Linked DNA regions of Homo sapiens: regions 1, 2 and 4 are each linked to region 3. Evidence: promoter capture Hi-C in 16 types of primary human blood cells and fetal thymus (Javierre and others, 2016). All regions are on one chromosome and are shown on one strand. The core of a region is centred on a gene start or on the middle of the fragment in contact, and the rest is flanking DNA. Distances in the headings are between cores, read along the strand shown.

What was found. Contacts are between HindIII fragments. The CHiCAGO score rates a contact against its expected background, and 5 or more counts as called.
Region 1: the fragment with the promoter of KRT25 here is called in contact with the fragment with the promoter of KRT31 in region 3 in 8 of 17 cell types (monocytes, M2 macrophages, M0 macrophages and 5 more); the score reaches 11.7 in monocytes.
Region 2: a fragment that was not itself captured here is called in contact with the fragment with the promoter of KRT31 in region 3 in 1 of 17 cell types (M2 macrophages); the score reaches 5.7 in M2 macrophages.
Region 4: a fragment that was not itself captured here is called in contact with the fragment with the promoter of KRT31 in region 3 in 2 of 17 cell types (M2 macrophages and erythroblasts); the score reaches 7.2 in M2 macrophages.

Annotation. Positions count from the first base shown.
Region 1 is chr17:40,753,529-40,757,118 of GRCh38, reverse strand. KRT25 (keratin 25) reads left to right here and starts at 1,788. Exons shown (of 8, transcript NM_181534.4): 1 at 1,788-2,276; 2 at 2,651-2,733; 3 at 3,103-3,259. The coding sequence starts at 1,848. The HindIII fragment of the contact is 3,727 bases long and covers 1-2,978 here.
Region 2 is chr17:40,732,785-40,736,341 of GRCh38, reverse strand. No RefSeq gene overlaps it. Among named protein-coding and RNA genes, the nearest start is that of KRT25, 21 kb to the left of the region's middle. The HindIII fragment of the contact is 590 bases long and covers 1,193-1,782 here.
Region 3 is chr17:41,395,786-41,399,099 of GRCh38, reverse strand. KRT31 (keratin 31) reads left to right here and starts at 1,492. Exons shown (of 7, transcript NM_002277.3): 1 at 1,492-1,908; 2 at 2,105-2,187; 3 at 2,524-2,680. The coding sequence starts at 1,561. The HindIII fragment of the contact is 10,261 bases long and covers 1-3,314 here.
Region 4 is chr17:40,694,397-40,697,552 of GRCh38, reverse strand. It overlaps LOC105371775 (a long non-coding RNA gene), which reads right to left. Exons shown (of 4, transcript XR_934751.2): 4 at 1-97. Among named protein-coding and RNA genes, the nearest start is that of KRT24, 7.8 kb to the left of the region's middle. The HindIII fragment of the contact is 3,749 bases long and covers 1-3,156 here.

The DNA of each region.
Region 1 (3,590 bases), core at 539-3,038, 640 kb after region 3:
AACAAGAAAAGAATGTGATTAAAAAGACATTTGTCAGCCAGGGACAGTGGTTCACGCCTGTAATCCCAGCACTTTGGGAGGCCGAGGTGGGAGGATCACGAGGTCAGGAGATCGAGACCATCCTGGCTAACACAGTGAAACCCCATCTCTACTAAAAATACAAAAAGAAATTAGCCGGGTGTGGTGGCGGATGCCTGTAGTCCCAGCTACTCAGGAGGCTGAGGCAGGAGAATGGCTTGAACCCAGGAGGCGGAGCTTGCAGTGGGCCCAGATCGCACCACTGCACTCCAGCCTTGGCGACAGAGTGAGGCTCCGTCTCAAACAAAAAAAAAAAAGACATTTCTCAAAAGACATACAAATAGCCAATAGGTTTATGAAAAGGTGCTCAACATCACTAATCATCAGGGAAGTGCACTAGGGAAATTTTGGTCAAAGAATACAAAATTTCATTTAGGTGGGAAGAATAAGTTCAGGATAACTATTGTACAATATGGTGACTATAGTTAATAACAATAAGAAAGTAGATTTTAAATGTTCTTACCACAAAATAGGTATGTGAGGTAATAGATATGTTAATTAGCTTGATTTGGTCATTACACAATATATTCATATATCAAAAAATCATGTCGTGCACCATAAATATATACAATTTTTATTTCTCATTTTTTTTTTTTTGAGGCAGAGTCTCATTCTGTCACTCTGGCTGGAGTGCAGTGACACAATCTTAGCTCACTGTAACCTCTGCCTCCCAGGTTCAATTGATTCTCTTGCCTCAGCCTCCCGAGTAGCTGGGATTACAGGCACCTCGCCATGATGCCTGGCTAATTTTTGTATTTTTAGTAGAGATGGGGTTTCACCATGTTGGTGAGGCTGGTCTCAAATGCCTGACCTCAAGTGATCCACCTGCCTCAGCCTCCCAAAGTGCTAGGATTACAGGCGTAAGCCACTGTGCCTGGCCTTATTTGTCAATTTTTTATATTTCCATAATAGGTAGAGTTTTCAGTAAATATATGTGAATTCCCACCGACTAAATACCTTACTGATGACTTTCATCTGAGCTAAACCACAATAAATTAAGACAGAAAAAATAGTTCCTACCAGGTTTGCTTCAGATTTTGCAGGGTCAGGAAATAAGTTAATGTCTTTCCAAACTCCCACAAAACATAACACCAATTAGGGGTGTGCTCCTAATTACCAAAATGGATAAGGTAAGACAACTCTCCTCAGTCATAAGTGTCAACAGAATATGATGCTCATGTCAGCCAGAATGGAAGTTAACTTCCCATGGGAAAGAGTGGCAAGAGGAATTTAAAAATAAAAACAAAAACCTATTGGTTGAAGAACCAGGTTGGGGAAATGATTACAGTTCTATTCTCTACTTATGTGGAAAAACTTGTGAAAATAAAAGCAGAAAAAGCCTCAGAAACATCACAATCTGCCTTGGCATAATAGCCCAAAACCATGATGCTAAATTTCTATCCTGTAATGAGCTGATGAGGTTTACTTCCAAGGATGGAAGTGAAGAATGACTCACTCAGCATTTAAAAACGTAATAATGAACCTGACATTGCTCCACCCAGACCCATTTCTCAGATAACCACCAACCTGAGGGCAACTGCCCTCCTACAGGAATGAGCCCAGCAAAGTGAGTTACTAATTAGAAAAAATCACCCAATTATGCCAACTTGCTGAGACTGGCAAGCCATGTTTTACTCTGTGTAGGCAGAATTTCATTCAGAACACACTTGGGACTTGCCTATAAAAAGGCAAACCAAACCTTTTAGACAAGAAGGCACTCCATTCTGGCTTTCACAAATACAGCTCTGCAACGCGTTTGCCCTGATACCATGTCTCTTCGACTTTCCAGTGCATCCAGGAGGTCCTGTCCTCGTCCCACCACTGGATCACTCAGACTCTATGGTGGGGGAACCAGCTTTGGTACTGGAAATTCTTGTGGCATTTCAGGGATTGGAAGTGGCTTCTCTAGTGCCTTCGGAGGCAGCTCATCGGGAGGAAACACAGGGGGAGGTAATCCCTGTGCTGGCTTCACTGTGAATGAGCGGGGGCTCCTTTCTGGCAATGAGAAGGTGACCATGCAGAACCTCAATGACCGCCTGGCATCCTACCTGGACAGTGTGCATGCTCTGGAGGAGGCCAACGCTGACCTGGAGCAGAAGATCAAGGGCTGGTATGAGAAATTTGGGCCTGGCTCTTGCCGTGGTCTTGATCATGACTATAGCAGATATTTCCCAATAATTGATGACCTTAAAAATCAGGTAAGAAATCATACTGCACAATCATTTTCATGTACCTTTATTTCTAAATTTTGTTTTCCTTTCTTTATTAAATTCTAAAAACATTTATCATTCCTACTTGTGATTTTTTTTTTTTTTTTTTTTTGAGAAGGAGTTTTGCTCTTGTTGCCCAGGCTGGAGTGCAACCGTGGGATCTTGGCTCACTGCAACCTCCACCTCCTGGGTTCAAGAGATTCTCCTGCCTCAGCCTCCCAAGTAGCTGGGATTACAGGTGCCTGCCACCATGCCCTCCTACTTGTGATTTCTTAAAGAGAATTCCAATTTAGCATTAGAAATAAGCATTAAGTAGATTCAGTTGGTTTACTTCATGATAAAAGTCAAATTCCCATTTCTAGATCATCGCATCCACCACCAGCAATGCTAATGCTGTTCTGCAGATCGATAATGCCAGGCTTACAGCTGATGATTTCAGACTCAAGTAAGTAGACTGCCAGAGTGAAATGAATTCATGGCAATTCATGCAACGCATTACATCAAATTTAGCAACTCTTATTCCAAAATTATAAAACACTTGAATTTCACATAAACAGGATGTTATTACTTTTTTATGCTTTGACTATTAAATACAAAGCATGAACTGCTATTAAAACTAGCGCCCAATACCCTAGTTCTTTTTCTGTCAAATACTGCAAAGTAGAAACAATAATTATTATACAACAAGCTTTGAAAATGCCTCTTGTGGCCAAATCTTCAAAATTCCAGAATGCTAGCATTTGTCATTGATCAGTGACTAGTGACTATGTCTCCAACCATGTGACAAATTAGGAAATCATTAACACTCTTTAAGGTATGAAAATGAGCTGGCTCTTCACCAGAGTGTAGAGGCTGATGTCAATGGGTTACGAAGAGTTTTGGATGAAATAACCCTGTGCAGAACAGATCTGGAGATTCAGTATGAAACCCTGAGTGAGGAGATGACTTACCTCAAAAAGAACCATAAAGAGGTAAGAGCTGGTCGTCTACATTTTGCTATCCCTCCGCAGACACTGTGCACCTGACAGGAGATAATGTACATAACCTCTCATATAAAAAGTTGGTGCTGAAGACACATTGTCAGACAGACATGAGGGCTGAGCTGTCTTTTTTTTTTTTTTTTTTTTTTTTTTTTTTTTTTTTTTTTGAGACGGAGTCTCGCTCTGCCGTCCAGGCTGAAGTGCAATGGTGCGATCTTGGCTCACTGCAAGCTCCGCCTCCTGGGTTCACGGCATTCTCCTGCCTCAGCCTCCCGAGTAGCTGGGACTACAGGCGCCCGGCTAATTTTATGTATTTTTAGTA
Region 2 (3,557 bases), core at 238-2,737, 660 kb after region 3:
TTTTCCCTTGCTTTTTTCTTATTCACGTCTTAGAAAATATTTCAGAAACCATTTGTAGCCTCAGGAATGGCCTAGTGGTTGTACATAGAACTATTTCCACAATTCCAGGTGATCAATTTCCAGGGCATGAGAATGTGATCAGGAGCGGTAGTCCTATGAGGATTCAGACTACAGCTGAGTGGTTCCAGCCTCAGTGAGCAGGTCAGAGCACCATGGCTTGGACCTTTTCCTCTAATTCATTTTATTAATGCATCAAAGGAATATATCAAGCTAAAGAAAATGTAGTCCCTTACTTGTCAGAGAAGGCAACACTGAAGAGTGGTTAAGGGAACAAGCCTCGAATTTTCTGGATTTAAAACTATTTCTACCCCTTTCTAGCTGTGTTTTCTTGGGCAAGTTATCTGATTACCTTGTCTCTCAATTTCCTCACCTGTAAAATGGTGATAATAATATTAACACCTATTCAGAGAGTTGGTGTGATGATTAAATATCTAATCTATGCGCTTTGGAGAGTGTCTGGTTCATATTAAACCCTCAATCAATGTAGCTACTACGGTGAAAAGGAAATAAAAATTTAAAAATTAATTGTATGTTATCAGAGAAGTTTAAAGATAAAAGAGAGCTTAGAGACTAGTCCGTGTCATTTCCCCTTGAGGAAACTAATGCCCCATGAGAAGTGGTTGATTCAGAGGCATTTCTAGTAAGAAGAATGAGAGATTTCATCTTATCAATTCTCTTACTTATTTATTTATTTTTGTAGAGATGGGGTCTCCCTATGTTGCCTTGTCTAGTCTCAAATCTCTGGGCTCAAGCAATCCTCCCTCCTTAACCTCCCAAAGTGCTGGGACAGGCATGAGCCACCACGCCCAGCCTTATCAATCCTCTTAAAGGTGAATGACAATTCTCCCTACTTTACCATAAGACTCAGACAATGAGTTGAATAAATTAGCCAATTAAAACAAAAATATTCAGGAGAAAATGACCTAGTTCCAATGACTGTGTTGCCAAAATGGCAAGTCTACAAAGAACATACAGAGAGCACTGTTCCTAATCCTGTCCTCTGTGATACTTATACCTGCAGGAACACGGCACTCATTGCAGCCTAAACCTTCCTGCTCAGATGGGAGGTTCTATGTGGCAAGGTGGTTAACATGCCTGAACTAGTGTCAAAGGTAGGAAGTAATTGAAAGCTTTCCAAAAAGGGAAGAAAAATGTAACCACATTGGTTCTTGAGGGCATTCTGCTTAATATGGAAAGAGGTATATTTATATACCTAAGAGAGCATGGCTATAATTTGTAAATTACCTAGAGGATTTAGTAACTGAAACATAACCAGAAGTCCTCACTCTCCACCAGTTTACAGGGATCCATGAAGTCTTCTTAACATTGATGCACTAATTTAATTTTTCTAGTTATTTAGTTGCCACCTATAAAAAACTACATACAAAACCTCTGGCTACCAGTCTTTTCCACTATAATTTAATGCTCTGCACTAGGCCACTGATACTCTCAAGTCTCATGATATGCTACAATTACTTGGAAGTTTCTATCCAAAAAGGGAGAAAAGAAACACCCTTCTACTTTTTCTGAGCTCCATTCTATAGGGGTATGTTGGGGCCCCCAAGACCATCCTCAATTTCAATGGTTCACTAGAAGGACTCACAGATCTCAGAAAAATGTTATACTCATGGTTATGGTTTATTACAGTAAAAGGATACACATTAAAATCAGCAAAGGCAAAAGGCACATAGGGCCATGTCCAGGAGAGACGAGGCATAAGCTTCCAATTGTTCTTTCACATGGAGTCACAAAAAACAGCACTTAATTCTCCCAGAAATGATGTGTGACAATGCATACATAGTAATGTCAACCAGAGAAGCTTGCCCAAACCTTGGTGTCCAGAGTTTTTATTGGGGGTCAGTCACTTAGGTATGGGACGCCCACATGGTTCACCTCAGTTACTCAGTCTGCAGCCCCTCCAGAAGTCAAACTGATACAGCGTAGCCCAAGAACGCCACTATAAGTCACACTGTTAGCATAAACTCTCTGCCGTGGCCTAAAGCCCCAGGTATACAAAGACACTCCTATCAGGCAGAATATTCCAAAGCTGAGAGCTTTTTCCCCAAGAGCTGGGTAAGGGCTACGCCTTTCTTTGGTATGTGCAAGATCTAAACACCCCAAGCCTGCTGAGTTAACCCTTTCCTGCAGAAGAGGTCTCCTGTGCAGAGCCCCAAGATAGTACGGAGTTTCACTTCAGCACATTCATCCCCTACAAGTCCTACCCCCAACTGCCAGCATGCATGAGCACCCCACACTCAAGCCCTCCATACCCTTGGACATCTAGGCTCTGTCGTCACATACAGCTCATAATGGAGTCCATCCTTCCTTAAAATGAGTTCTCTTGGGCTGGGCATGGTGGCTCATGCCTGTAATTCCAGCACTTTGGGAGGCTGAGGCAGGCAGATCACCTGAAGTCAGGAGTTCGAGACCAGCCTGGCAAGCATAGTGAAAACCCATCTCCACTAAAAATACAAAAATTAGTTGGCGCAGTGGCAGGCACCTGTAATCCCAGCTACTCAGGAGGCTGAGGCAGGAGAAATGGCTGAACCCAGGAGACAGAGGTTGCAGTGAGCCGAGATCATGCCACTGCACTCCAGCCTGGGTAACAGAGCAGGACCCAGTCAAAAAAAAAAAAAAAAAAAAAAAAAAAGCTGCACACAGTGGCTCATGCCGGTAATCCCACCACTTTGGGAGGCCGAGGAGGGCAGATCACGAGGTCAGGAGTTCAAGACCAGCCTGGCCAACACAGTGAAACCCCGTCTCTACTGAAAATACAAAAATTAGCTGGGCCTTGTGGTGGGCACCTATAATCCCAGCTACTGGGGAGACTGAGGCAGGAGAATCGCTTGAACCCAGGAGGCGGAGGCTGCAGTGAGCCAAGATTGCGCCACCGTACTCCAGCCTGGGTGACAGAGCAAGACTCCATCTCAAAAAAAAAAGAGTTCTCTGTTAGAGACCGTCTTTAATATTTAGCATCTGCTGAGTTCCTGCCAATCTTCGGCACATGCATGTATGCAAAGCCTAATTGCAGAAAAGACTTGAGATCTTTCTACAGAAGTCACCTCAGCAGAAAATAAAGACAATTACCCCTGAGAGTACCTAAATCTCCACTCAGGCTCAGAGGGATCTAACAGTGTTCGGAATCTTTGACTATAGAAGAGGGATGAAGTTTTTGTGTGAGAAATAATTGAATCAGGGCAAGCTTAAGAAAAACTTACATTCACTGAAACCATTTTCCAGGTGATTAAAGCAAAAGTGGGAAATTCAAGCAATGCAAATAGGCATGTTTCAAACATATCAGAAAGTAGTATTTTCAATCTATTGCCACAATTAAGTTTCTAGACCCAGAAATGCAAGACAAAATTACAAATGGGTACTGCCTTAAATCTAACATAAAAATTTATCTTCCAAGACATAAAACCCACTCTTCCCTTCCTCTTCACCTACAATATAGATTTTTCTTAACGTCTAGAGACAGAACTTAAGAAAACAAACAC
Region 3 (3,314 bases), core at 243-2,742:
CATCTCTACTAAAAATACAAAAAATTAGCCGGGCGTGGTGGTGGGCACCTGTAGTCCTAGCTACTCAGGAGGCTGAGGCAGGAGAATGGCATGAATCTGGGAGGCGGAGCTTGCAGTGAGCCGAGATCGCTCCACTGCACTCCAGCCTGGGTGACAGAGCAAGACTCCATCTGAAAAAAAAAAAAAAATATATATATATATATATATATAAAGATTAAAGCCAACATGGATATATTATGGAATATAGGGTCAATTCATATGAAGTTTAAAGATCAACTACAAGTGATTTCAGGCCGTGGAGGCCCCTTTGGGCTATCTCCTGACTTTCCTAACATATCCATCTACTCTGTTCGGATACTATGGATAACCTTAGGAAATGTTTGACAAAGACCTCCTTATTCCTTTCTCTCTGCCCCTGAATATCTTTCCTAGATTATTTAAATGCATTTTTTTTGTTTTGTTTTGTATTTTGAGATGGAGTCTTGCTCTGTCACCAGGCTGGAGTGCAGTGGCACCATCTCGGCTTACTGCAACCTTCACCTCCCAGGTTCAAGTGATTCTCCTGCCTCAGCTTCCCGAGTAGCTGGGACTACAGGTGGGTGCCACCATGCCCAGCTAATTTTTTTGTATTTTTAGTAGAGATGGGTTTCACTATGTTGGCCAGGATGGTCTCTATCTCTAGACCTCGTGATCCGCCGGCCTCGGCCTCCCAAAGTATTGAGATTACAGGCGTGAGCCATTGTGCCCAGCCTTAAATGTGTTTTTTATGGCTCTCTCGGTTTGCACTTTTCAGCCTCTTTCAAAACGATCTCTTACCCCAGAAACTTCTTGTTCTCCAACTAGTTATCAAAGCCTCTACCTTTAAAATTCTCTCCTCTACAATTTTCTTAAGTAATATGTGGTGGTGGGGGGGAAGTATTACACGGACCCGTAAAACACAAATCGCTGTCTAATCTTTTCAGTCGTGTCCTCCATTGATTCTAATCATCCACCTTAAGGCTTCCAAGGCACAGAATGCTCCATCATTTGAAGATTCTTCTCTAAATGCAGAGGGAAAGACAGTCCACTGTGGCCTCTTAATGCAACTTCTTCCTCAAATCAATCCGTGTTTCTCCCTAGAAACGGCAGGTGGACCAGGACATGAGTATGTTTATGGGCCTGCAGAATTATGTGACACAAAAGAATGTCATCGGATGGATCAACACCTCAATTAATGAGGGCAGATACTTGGGCTGGACTGTGTAGCCTCTTTGAAGGCCTACCACAGAACTCTGATTTCATGGGTGGACTGTCTGCGGAGGAGTCCTGACTTAGCAAGAAGCCCAAGTAAAGAATTTTATGGGAGAAGGGACTCTTCAGAGGAAGGCAAATAACAGACTGAAGGAAAGGGCGTTTGAAAAGAAGTGAAGAAATAAAAAGAAAAAAGACATTACATACTGTGTCCACACCCTCTGCAGTGGGATATAAATGCTCCCTAGAGGAAGGAGACCCACAGCTCTGTGGCTTGGAGAATTTAGACTCTGTCTTCAGCCAGGCACTCCCTCCCTCCCTCCCAGCACTATGCCCTACAACTTCTGCCTGCCCAGCCTGAGCTGCCGCACCAGCTGCTCCTCCCGGCCCTGCGTGCCCCCCAGCTGCCACAGCTGCACCCTGCCCGGGGCCTGCAACATCCCCGCCAATGTGAGCAACTGCAACTGGTTCTGCGAGGGCTCCTTCAATGGTAGCGAGAAGGAGACTATGCAGTTCCTGAACGACCGCCTGGCCAGCTACCTGGAGAAAGTGCGTCAGCTGGAGCGGGACAACGCGGAGCTGGAGAACCTCATCCGGGAGCGGTCTCAGCAGCAGGAGCCCTTGCTGTGCCCCAGTTACCAGTCCTATTTTAAGACCATTGAGGAGCTCCAGCAGAAGGTGAGCGGCATTGCTGTCATCTCCAAGCAAGAGAGTTTGCTGTGATTCTGTCTGTGATAGAGAAGTGTGTTTCTTGCTTCTGTGCTGTCATAATTCTTGCTTCCTCTTTTATTTCAAAATGGCTTAAGTCATTTTTAAAAAGTTGATGATTTCATATTTATTTTCAGTCCTCACTAAGCCACCTCTCACTCCCCAGATCCTGTGTACCAAGTCTGAGAATGCCAGGCTTGTGGTGCAGATCGACAACGCCAAGCTGGCTGCGGATGATTTCAGAACCAAGTGAGTTGTTCGGAATTTGCACTAGTGTCAATTGCTTCTGTTTAATCTTTAAAGAAAAGGGATTTCCATCTGAAAACAGATCTACCCACTTGTTGTGAAGGATTCTGCAGAGGACTGGGGAGAACCAAGCAAAGAAATGCAAAAATGGATGAGGACTCACATCAATCTGTTTGTTTTGGGATGAATATTGGGTATTGATGGAGCCTCCAGAAACCTCTGTCTCCTGGGCCTATTCATTACAGAAAGTGGAAAGATAAGGCACATGAGGTTATCAAAAATCATTCCTGTGAGTCTTGAAGATCTACCAGGTAGTACTCTGACCCTGTCCTTGCGCAGGTACCAGACCGAGCTGTCCCTGCGGCAGCTGGTGGAGTCGGACATCAACGGTCTGCGCAGGATCCTGGATGAGCTGACCCTGTGCAAGTCCGACCTGGAGGCCCAGGTGGAGTCCCTGAAGGAGGAGCTGCTCTGCCTCAAGAGCAACCATGAGCAGGTGAGACTAGAAATGAGAAATGCACAAACCTGTCTCAGCCTCTGGCTCAGGGTTGCTTTAGTGATTTGGGGCAGCAGAATGCAGAGTATGAGTACAAGACTGAGGGTTTCCTTTGAAAACATCACGGTAAGAGAAAAATTGGAGAGAGATAAGACCTGTTCATGTTCCCAGACAGGAAACATCTTTCACTTTAAACTAGCACATTATTTGAGTTGCCCGGAGCAGCTCCATGTGCTTGCAGTTGATCAATAGTTGTAGAATGAGTCCTAGCATTGCAGTGTTATTGCTTTGTAAAGTCTTTTTTTTTTTTTTTTGGCAAAGGCCAAGAAAAAAAATATCAAACCTTATAAATGTGAGTCTCTACTCTTTCAAAGTATTGGTGAAGAGTGTTTGTGAGATTCTTCCTCTCTCTTGGGAGGGGCCATGACATGCTCTTACCTCTTACTTGACAGCAAGAGTTTTTTGATATATGGTCTGAAATTGCACAGCCTATTTTTTTTGGCATTCTGAGGTCCTCACAGCCAATTGTAAACTGGGAAAGTTGAATATCAATTAGTTCATCCTTCAGTGGCATCCAAGCAAACTTTTGGGATTTTTTTCTGAAGCCAAGTGCCATGGCACAGCAGATGGTGGG
Region 4 (3,156 bases), core at 53-2,552, 700 kb after region 3:
ACTGCTGATTTAGCTTGCCTCGATATCTCATCAGTAAGCGCATTCCTGGATGTGCTCGGAGTCAGCTTGCACTACTTATGCCTTTAAGGGAGGGGAGCTGCAAGTGAAGAAACAAAAATGGAGTCTGTCCGGCTCTCTCAGCTAAGAGAGACAATCAGGTTAAAACGAGGTAGGGTATCACATTACCTTCTTTATACAATTCAGATTATAGTCATTTTTTTAATGTGGGCATTTTTAATGGCATCACATAAGAACTCAGTGGCATGATAGCTGAAATTAGACTACCGTGTCAACGGCTTAGCCCACAAAGAAGGATGTGATTATTTTAATAATCAACTTATAATTAATGTCTAGTTTATATATGTCCATCACTGAACTCGATATTTTATAAGATAAAAAAGAAACTCAAAATCTCCCTCCTACTTCAAAAAGCTCACATTTCAGCAGAGAAGAAGAGCTAAAACACAAAGAAGACAGCAAGCAATAAAAAGCTGTTAATAGTAAAGACTTGATTTCACAATCTGCATCAGAAGTGACATAGGAATCAGACATGTGTGTTTACAGGACATTTAGGACAGGGGCCAAAAAAGAGTCTTGGGAAATAAGATTGGCTATGTGATATGGCAATCTGATTTCCTGAAACCTTGAAAGCCCCAAAGAGAAGAGATCCTCAGGCACTTGTTCCCCTGCCAAATCTAGCCACATCTTTAGCCAAAACCTGCCACTTCGCCAAGCTGGTGTTTCTTTTCCCCAGTCTCCACTGCTAAGATCTTTCATCCCGTTGGTGGTCATAGCCCTATTCTTTCATTTCTACAGTATCCCTGAGGCCACATGGCTTTGTCTTGTCTTGTTTGGGATGATGAAACCTGTTAAGATTGGGTAGGAGGTGGTACGGGCCCCAGGAAGAACCAGGCATAGCACCAACCCAGGCTGGCTAAGGGCTTTCTCAATCAAGGAATTTAATATGCCCATATCACAAATTAGAGAATCAACTCTACAAGCCAGTCCTCAAGGAAAGAACACGGGACGTGGCATAAAAAGCCAAATGTAAAGTTATAAAAGGACAAATCTGAACATGTATCTTCCAATATAAAACCAATTAAGAATTGTGTGAGCATATCAAACCTATCATCAAAACATGTAGTTTTTCATCTTCTGGGCACATTGAATAAAACTTAAAATGAACCTCTGGGTACATTATGACTTCTGCTTAAATAGCTAACCACAGAATAAGGTTAATAGCTAACCACAGAATAAACATTAAACCACTACTCAAAGAAAAAGAGCAATGTTAAGTTGCTTAAGTCAAAGCTGTTTTCCACCATCAAATCATTACAATAAATAAAACCCTGAATGCTTCTTCTCTGCTGAAATACTAAAAGTCTGAACCAGCTCATCCAACTGGATTCATAGCTCAAGAGCAGAAATGGAAATCTGCCGTAAGCAGCCTGCAGAACCTAAGCCATCCCGGCCACATCAGCGAAGCCTCTCTCTGTGGGTCTTCTCAAGTCTAACCTTCTAGCTGTGGATTTTGGCCACCTGAGACCTATGTTCATGGCTAGTACTATTTTCATGTCAAGGCAAAAGTATAAGGCTACTCTGAAAGTCATCTCGAGGTGAAAACCCTCATCTGTTCTTCCTTGTCATGCGTTAAGATGCTGCGTTTGTACTGAATGATTGTTTACAAATATAGAAAAGGCCCAATCATAGACACCAGAACACTGAGACACAATAGAATGTGTTGTTAAGGGCATGTTCAATTTTGAAAACTGAAACTATTCAACCATTTTGGATCATAAAACGTATTTACAGTGCTGAATAAAAAGTTAAGGACATGGTGTTCATACATTATTACTTGCCTTAAAATTATTTTAAAACTCTACAATAGGAATATGTTTATTGTGAGACCCTAAAGTTCAGCTCTCCAGGCAATTTTTTTGCTTTGTTTTGTTACAGGGTCTCGCTCTGTTGCCCAGGCTGGAGTGTAGTGGTGCCATCTCGATTCACCTGCAGCCTCAACTTCCTGGGCTCAAGCAATCCTCCCACCTCAGCCTCCTGAGTAGCTGCAGGCAACCATGCCCAGCTAATTTTGTTTATTTTTTGTAGAGATGGAGTTTCACTATGTTGCCCAGGCTGGTCTCAAACTCCTGGGCTCAAGCAATCCTCCCACCTCGGCCTTCCAAAGGGCTGGGGTTATAGGCATGAACGACTGCATTCAGCCTCAACTTTTGAATGAGAGGAACACATTTCTTTTTTCTAAGAGTGGATTTACTGTAAGAAGGGAGAGCTCATGCCCACATGCACATGGGCTTTCTTTTTTGTTTGTTTGTTTTTTTTGAGACAGAGTCTCTCGCTTGTCGCCCAGGCTGGAGTGCAGCGGCGCGATCTCGCCTCCACCTCCCAGGTTCAAGCGATTCTCCTGCCTCAGCCTCCTGAGTAGCTGGGATTACAGGCACGCGCCACCAAGCCCAGCTAATTTTTGTATTTTTAGTAGAGACGGGGTTTCACCATGTTGGCCAGGCTGGTCTCGAACTCCTGACCTTGGGATCCGCCCACCTCGGCCTCCCAAAGTGCTGGGATTACAGGCGTGAGCCACCGCACCCAGCCTCGCACATGGGTTTTCACCCGTTGACTTTTAATCCAGAGATTCACAGGGTTGTTTTTTCTTTCTCACCTCAGGGAAGTATACACAAGAATGATGAGAATGGTCGACGTGGCATCCATCCTCACAGAGATGACAAACAAGAAACAAGGTTCACAGCAGGCAGCTCAGAGTAAACGGCTAAAGTATTTGAAGCTCTAAGGAAAGTGGCCTAAACTGGCTTGACGACTTCGTGGAATTAGACAGTGTTCACCCAGGAGGAGACAAACTGGTGAATATAAATCACCCAAAATGAAGCTCAAGTAATATTATCCACACAACCTCCTCAAGGAACAAAATACTACAAGTAATAAACCACTTTAAAAACTTTTCAGTGGCTGAGATATGACACTTGGGTAACAGAAAATATTGATCAAGCCCTTCTGAAAACAAAGTACTCATTTGTAATATCAATGTCAATATGAAATGATAATGCAGGAAAGAAGCAAATGTTAATAGTTCAACCACTTTTTTAAAAGTTAGCACTTAAATAGCAGGTAAGGGACAAGCCCAGA